Linked DNA regions of Homo sapiens: region 1 is linked to region 2. The links are contacts of gene promoters, found by promoter capture Hi-C in blood cells and fetal thymus (Javierre and others, 2016). All regions are on one chromosome and are shown on one strand. The core of a region is centred on a gene start or on the middle of the fragment in contact, and the rest is flanking DNA. Distances in the headings are between cores, read along the strand shown.

Region 1 (3,565 bases), core at 329-2,828, 300 kb before region 2:
ACTCCACATCTCTTATTCCCATGCTGGACCCAGGACTGCACTTTGCACATCGTGGGGCTAGAAAACAGATGAGACCACTCTCTCTTCGAGGAGTTCCCATTCTGGCAGAGGTTTCTGGGAGTGCTCAGAGGAGGGAGAGAGCACATTCTGCTGCTAGGTCTGGGGCCTTTCCATGATACGGGGCCTGGAAAGATGGATGAGATTTCAGCAGGCAAAGAGGGACAGGGAGGGCTTTCCAGGGACAGAGAACAGGCCTGGGCCTTGGGGTATAAGGGATATCACAAAGAGGCAGAGGAGGTTAAGGCTGAGAGTAGGGACCCAAGCAGAGAGGGCTCTGAATGCCAAGCTAAGGGACCTGGAGGGCATTTGACAGGCAATAGGGAACCACTGAAAGTTCTGAGCAAGAGAGCAGCATGATCAGAGGTAGATTTCAGAAAGCGCAGCCTTGGAGGATAGACTGGAAGTGGGAGAAACTGGAGGTTGAGGGACCTGGTAAGAGGCATGTACTATATCTCAGTGAGATGTAACCGGGATCCGGGTGGGGATAGTGGTTGTGGGATGGTAAAGAGGGGAAAGATATCAGAGGCACTTCACAGACATGGAGCATGAGTAGAGGAATGCTAGGGAGGGGGCCCAAGATGGCCCTGAAGGTGAAAACGGGGTGATTGTTAGGAGGATTGGGGTGGAAAAGATTGTGACACTAGGGTTCAGGGCCATCTCATGCACTAGCCTCTGTCGTTGGCCCGTCAGATGGCAGTTGATGGTGTCATTCTTAACTAACCACTCTGCGTCCATGGAGGAAGGGGTTCAGGGACATCTGCCAGTCATTCTTTACAGCACAGCTCTCTGACTCCCACAGCAGGGGTAGAATCATCTGTCAGTGCCAATAGAGATCATGGGTCCTCAGGCCCATGTGCTGGAGTGAGATGCTTTCCATCCAGAAAGTGGGTACACTCTGCTTTGACCCATGCCCTAGTGTCAGATTAGGCAAGGCAGGAACTGCCTCACTCTAAGCTCCAGGAACCCAAGGAGTTTTGGAAAGACAACAAACTTGAGGAGACTTCAACCCAGGTCCCCCTCCACTGTAACAAGTCAGTCCTTAGGTCCCAGGGACCATCTGTTAGCCAGTCTTTCTCCTTAGGAAGATGACTGTCCTTGTTACTGTCCATGCATTTGGTCCTCCAAATACTGTGGCTTTTGTCTGTACCCAGTGTCCTCCAACTGGCCTCATTGCTCATGAGATTCCCCCTCATCTCCCTCCTGCCCTGCCTCTCAGCATGCCCTCGGGGATGCTTGGGAAGCAGCCCCTCCTGCCAGGAAGAAAAGGAAGGATGGGCAGGGAGAGAGGAGGCATTTCTCCTAACTTATCTGAGACACGTTAAAGATGAGGCAGAACCTTGGGCCTGCTCACCAGCCACAGTGAGCCTGCTGGTGGGGGCGGGAGGTGTCTGGGAGTAGCTCAGTTGCTCCTGGTGTTGGCCTCTGCTTCTGCTCTCATTCCCCTCTCTATTCATGGTACTGGCCCAGCTCCTCCACTCATTCTTCAAAAACATTCATCGATGCTGACTCTATGCCAGGCATGATGCCAAGAACCAGGAATGCAAAGATGAAAGAGACCCAGTACCTGATCTCAGGGAGCTCACTAGGAAGAGAACAAATTGCAGATGGTTGTGATTCAGTGGCATGAAAGTGCCGATGGGAGGACAGGGTGCTACAGAAGCCTGGCGGAGAGCACTTACTTTACCAGGGCGGACCTGAAGGCTTCCCAGAAAAGGCAACATCTGGGTCATGCAGGATGAATAGGAGGGGGCCAGGCAGAAAAGCAGGGCTGTGGGTGGGAGTGGAGGTAGGAGGGACTATACAGAGGCAGAGATACCAGGTGGTTTCTGGGAATTGCAAGTCTGCATTTAGGAATGGTGGGATGTGAGCACATACCTGCAGCCACAACTGCAGGTTTGTCCTCAGGCCACGCTCCCCATGGACCCTGCCTCCTTCCTCTGATCACTTCTTAGAAAACCCTAACTCACACCAGCTCATGGTGTCCGTTTGGATGAGTCAAGCATGAACTGATGTCTAGTTTTTCTAAAGGATCCGCAAGTCTCCAGGTTGGCGATCAAAGGTAGAAGGTTAAGTTCATTTTCCAGAGAATCAGCCCAAAGATGCTAGAGCTCACCTGGGAACATCAGAGATTCCTAGTCTTCTCTGGGCCCAAAGAGGGGTCTCTGGGAGCTCCCCATCACTCTTGCCTTCCTGCACAGCCTCAGCAAATGGCATTGGAAGGACACCATTCCTAGCAAGATGGCTTCCAGGACTTACAATAGAACTGGAAAGGCTGGAACCCTGAGATGTAAGCAGTGACCTTTTGTTATGTACAGTGCCCCATCTGGACTGGCAAGGCAGCTCTCTGCGTGGACCTCTGCACCCTGGTGGGCACCTCCCCACATCCTGTAACCTGGTGGCCCCAGCATGCCTCCTCCTTTAGCCTAGGCCCCTCCCAGCCCCTCCTCCACATCGCACTTCTCCATAGGACCTTTCTTCAATTGGTCCAGCCCCCTGGAAACCTTCTATTTCAAACTCCCACTACTGTTGGCAGCTCTCTGTCACTCTTACTCTCTCCTGTAGGTTTTGTCTCCTAACTACTGCATGCCCTTGGAAAGCAGAAATGGAGATGGTGGAATCCTTTAGTTTCCCCCTGTCCCTAGCATGGTGTAGGACACTAACATTGTTGATACAGTCATTCTACTGCTGGTAACAATGACCAAGATTTGCTGAGCCTTCCCTACATGCCAGGTGCTTGTCCTGTACACACTTTATCTGTATTAACTCATGTATTCCTCATAGCAATCCTACAAGGTATGTTTTATTATAACCCTGACGTTCCAGGTAAAAAAATAAATAAATAAAGGCACAGAGAGGTTGTGTAATTTGCCCAAAGCCTGAAGCTAGTATGTGGCAGAGCCAGGATTCAAACCCAGGCTGCCTGCTCCAAGGTCTATTTAACACAGCACTAGACTGTCTTTCCATTGTGGAATATTACAGACACACAATACATTCCCTGCTGAAAATTAACAAGGAGCCAAGTTTCTACTCATTCATTCATTGATCTGTTCATTCAACATGTTTATTGAGCACCTACTATGTAACAGGCACGGGTGGATACAGAGAAAGGAAGTAGGCTCAGCTTGTGCCTTGCAGAGCTAACAGTCAACTGCTTATGGTGACTTTGCCGGGAAAATGGGGGTCCCTAGATCTTTCCCAGCTAAGGATTATGGGCAGATTGCCCTGGATGAAAATACTTCTTCCAGGGCAGAGCATCAGTGGAGGTTACTGTCTAAGGACAGTCAGGGCTGAGGCTCAAGGATGATACCTAGTCAGGGAAAACGCCCAAGCTCTTTCTAGATGGCAGTCCTCCCAGGCGGTGTTGGGGTACCTGCAGGAGGGAACCAGACCCTGGCAGAGGGCCAAGCACAGCCCAGCACACTTCTACCCCCATCCTTGCAGACCAGGACACGGAGCCACCAAAGACTCTAAAATGAAAGTAGGGTGTGAGGAGGAAAACACCTGC
Region 2 (3,644 bases), core at 756-3,255:
CTCCAGGTCTGTTTCCGAATTCTCCCGGGCTGGTTTCACTTTTTCAACAGTCGGCGGGGATTCGGCCTCACAGTAGAGCATTTTATCGCTGCTCTGTCGTACTGGCTCAATTTCAATCTCATCTGGAAGAAAAAACTCATCTCCTTGATGCCAGGAATAAAACTTGCTGGCCTCCCAATAAAGCCTGCCGCTGCCGCCCCTCCATCTCTGCTCCCTTCCTCTGAGTCCCAGGTCCTCAAGGTGCCAAGCCCTGCCAGGGCAAGTCCACTCTACAAACCTCCCTTCCCCAATAGCGCTGCCTCCGGCTGCAGGGTCTACGGGAGCTTGTGAAACCAACTCCCTTCTGCTCCCTGGAGACCGGCTGCTCCTTCCCCCTTCCCTGTCTGAGGCGTGCCTTGGAGATCGGCTCCTTGCTCACACTTTCCCATTCTTAAGTGTTTGGGTGGGTTTTGGGGTGTGCTGTTACTCTTTCAGGTGAAAGGGTGGGTCCCGATACATAGGCTTCCTTATTGTCAGGCACAAATGGTGCCAGGGAGTATAAGGGGCAGGGCAGGGCAGGGGAGGTGACAACTTAGGTCAAATAGAAAATAAAATGGACCAGGAGCAGTTCCAGAGAGCAAGAGAGAGAACTTGATTCCTAAGAATTTGACTTAGCTTCTCTTCCTTCCAATCTAACATTGATTTGTGATTAGGAAGAAGGAGGGGCTTGAAAATCTCCCTTGGGTCGAAATGAATTACTATGATTAATTCATAGTAATGAATTAATCATATTCATTGCTGGGAACAGAGCTCCCCTCACACCAGTCCTCTGCACTTGCTAGATGTGGTTTTACCACCTCTGGGCCATTGACCTGGGATCAGCCATAGGCTCCTGAAAGCCATGGGCTTCTGGAAGCCACACATAAAATCCAGAGCTCAATCCTTAGGCACTGACAGGACTCAGTAGTTTCAAGAAGCCATGCCATGCCTCTGAATGACCTGTCAGAATTTAGCCAACCTACTCATTGGGTGGGCTGAGCATTTGTGGCAGGGGTCCCAAGTTTTGACCACCCAGATTCTAGGATGGTGGGGTTCCTAATGAGTCCATGCAGGTCTTTCTTAATCCTTGTCCATAGACCCAGGTTCCAACATTTATCTCCCAGACTGTCTGGGATACACAGTGCAGGTAGCAGTGGCCTGGTAGTTAGAAGACAGACAACAGCTTGGCTGTCAGACTGCTGAGTGCCCTTAGAAAAGTGATGAATTTCTGAGTGTTAATTTCCTTGTCAAACAATTTAGAATTCCATTCAACCAGTAGAATGCTGGTAAATTTTAACAATTGATTCTCCAGGAAAAAAAACAAACAACACCAAAAACATCCTGATTTATAGTGTTAGCCAATTCATGTGGTGTAAATATTCCCAATGTGACTGATTTCAAACTATAAATGTGGTATCAACTGGCCCACACAATAAAAATTAAAGCTGGCTAGAGCCAGTATGAGGTAGTTGTGGCATAGCACTGCAGCCAATTCTTCCTGTTTGCCAAGGCCTGAACCCAAGTCAGTATAACAAATCATCCTACTTCTAGAGGGTCCCAGGTGAGGAAAGAAGTGGGCTTCAGGGTCCTGTGATCACTAGGTGTTGTACTGAGGCAGCAGGGACGGGCCTGAGTGGTGAGAGATGGGATGCCCTTTCACCTTCTGTCTCAGGCTGAAGAGGCTTGTCATTGTCCATGGTGCCAGGACCCTCTTGAGGGCAGCTGCCAACTTCTTGCCACCTCTCGACTGCTTCCCTAAGAAGCACACCTGTCCATTCACCTCTGTCTCAAACTCTGTGAACTTCCCTCACCTGGGGGCATCCCAGGGGAGCCTGCAGTTATCCTTCCCTCCCAGCAAGCCCTGGGAAGAGTAGGCTTTGATGGGAATTGGATGTGCATGAATTTGACCCCAACTCTGTCTGGGAGAGGTAGCTACTTCTCCAGCTCATCTGGGAGAGTGGGACTGCTCTATTGCTGGGAGCCCTGTTGAAAGGATCCCCACCCGCCTGTGACTTTGTGACTCAGGAGCCACTTTCATTTCATCTTCAACATTCTGTGACCTCATGCAGTCATTGTGATTCACATGGTGGACCTGGCAACAGCAGGCTTCCCGCCCTCTGGGTGGTTCTGGCAGTCACCTGTTCTCATATGTCTACTGGGGCCAAGCCCAGGCTTGGCTGTGAGTGCTCAGGTGCTGTGGGGGGTTCCTCTCAGTGGTGTTGTATTTCCCTCTGAGTCAGGACCCAACCCAAGCCCCTTAATTAGGTGACTGTGAAGAGCTGCCATCATGTTCTTCTCGCAAGAGAGCTGTGCTTCAGGTATGAAGTATTTCAGTGACGGGTGAAGTCAGTTTTCTTCTGCCCAGCTCTTCTTCCTTTTTTCTTTTCCCCGTGGGAGAGCATCTTAACCTTGGAGCTGAAGATCAAAAGCACAGCGCAATGAACATATGTCCTATCACTACAGTTTGTTGCAGCCAAAGCATTGTTCAATCCAAACTATGGGGCTGCCTACCTTGAGACGGTTCAACTAGCATTCCCACACTCGGCCATTCTCACATGTGTTGGAGTTGAAGTCCAGTTGCAGTTTGGTTTCGGGAGAATCTGGAGGCACATTTGTTCTTTCTTGATAAGTTTTCAGGACATCAATGGTCAGGTCAGTGACTGGAGGGTTTGAGGATGTGAAAATTCCTTTTTTTTTTTTTTTTTTTTGCTACTCAGAATGAGGAAGATCTAGAAATGTGTGCAAGGAAAACATGATTAGAACCATGGATCAGAAGAAATATGTATACCTGAGATGTTACTTGTTCCTTCAAGCATTCATGCTGAGAAATACATATTGAGTCTCTATTACGTACGGGCGCTAAAATAGGCACCACTGTGGGGAAGGGATGCAGACATGATTAAGACAGGACCCTTTTAAGGCATGTGCAATGCATAATAGAAATTGACAGGGCCACCCTAGGGTGAGGGTCCTGGGCAAATATTTTTGGTAGAGTTCTTGCTTGTATAAACAATTTGAGTCACCCTAAATCGGCATGGCAGCACCATTCTGGTGGCCCAATCTCATGTGGTCCTTCTAAAGAAATACCAAACAGTCCAGGGAGAGTGATCAGCTCCTAGGATGATCAGGTAGACATGAGTCCTGGTGATCCTCAGGGCATCTGGCTGGCCCACACTATTGCAGAGGATAAGGAAGCATTAAGGGGGAGAAAGAGGGATCAGAGAGCATGTGTGTCCTGGTCTAGGGCTCTGGGTGCTCTACTTGGACGGCACCATCTGGTCTCAGGTACTGAAGGGTGAGTGAGAAAATCTAGAGGTAGGTGCTCCAACTAAGCCACTGGATAGAGGCACCACCAGCCTGGATCCAACAGCAGCAGGGAAACTGAGATGGGTCTTTGGGGAAATGCGCTGGGCGTTCAGGGGAGGGTGAGGTTTCTTCATATTGGGGAACTTGCTTGGGCTCTGGACAAGTAGAGTCTGGGGAAAAGGCATTTCCAGGAGGTCAGGATGAAGGAAGGCAGCAGCTCCCCGCATAGGAGTGCAGGCTGTGAAGACGAGTAGCAGAAGGGGAGGCCACCAGGGCCAGGGCAGCTTCAGGGAGAGATCCGAATGCAATTAAAAGGCAAT

What was found. Contacts are between HindIII fragments. The CHiCAGO score rates a contact against its expected background, and 5 or more counts as called.
Region 1: a contact is called between a fragment that was not itself captured here and the fragment with the promoter of LRRC74A in region 2, in 1 of 17 cell types (neutrophils). The highest score is 6.7, in neutrophils.

The regions. Positions count from the first base shown.
Region 1 is chr14:77,126,671-77,130,235 of GRCh38, reverse strand. No RefSeq gene overlaps it. Among named protein-coding and RNA genes, the nearest start is that of ZDHHC22, 13 kb to the left of the region's middle. The HindIII fragment of the contact is 5,677 bases long and covers 1-3,565 here.
Region 2 is chr14:76,824,769-76,828,412 of GRCh38, reverse strand. LRRC74A (leucine rich repeat containing 74A) reads right to left here and starts at 2,005. Exons shown (of 14, transcript NM_001385106.1): 1 at 1,679-2,005; 2 at 1-122. The coding sequence starts at 1,715. RefSeq lists an enhancer at 1-81. The HindIII fragment of the contact is 9,425 bases long and covers 1-3,644 here.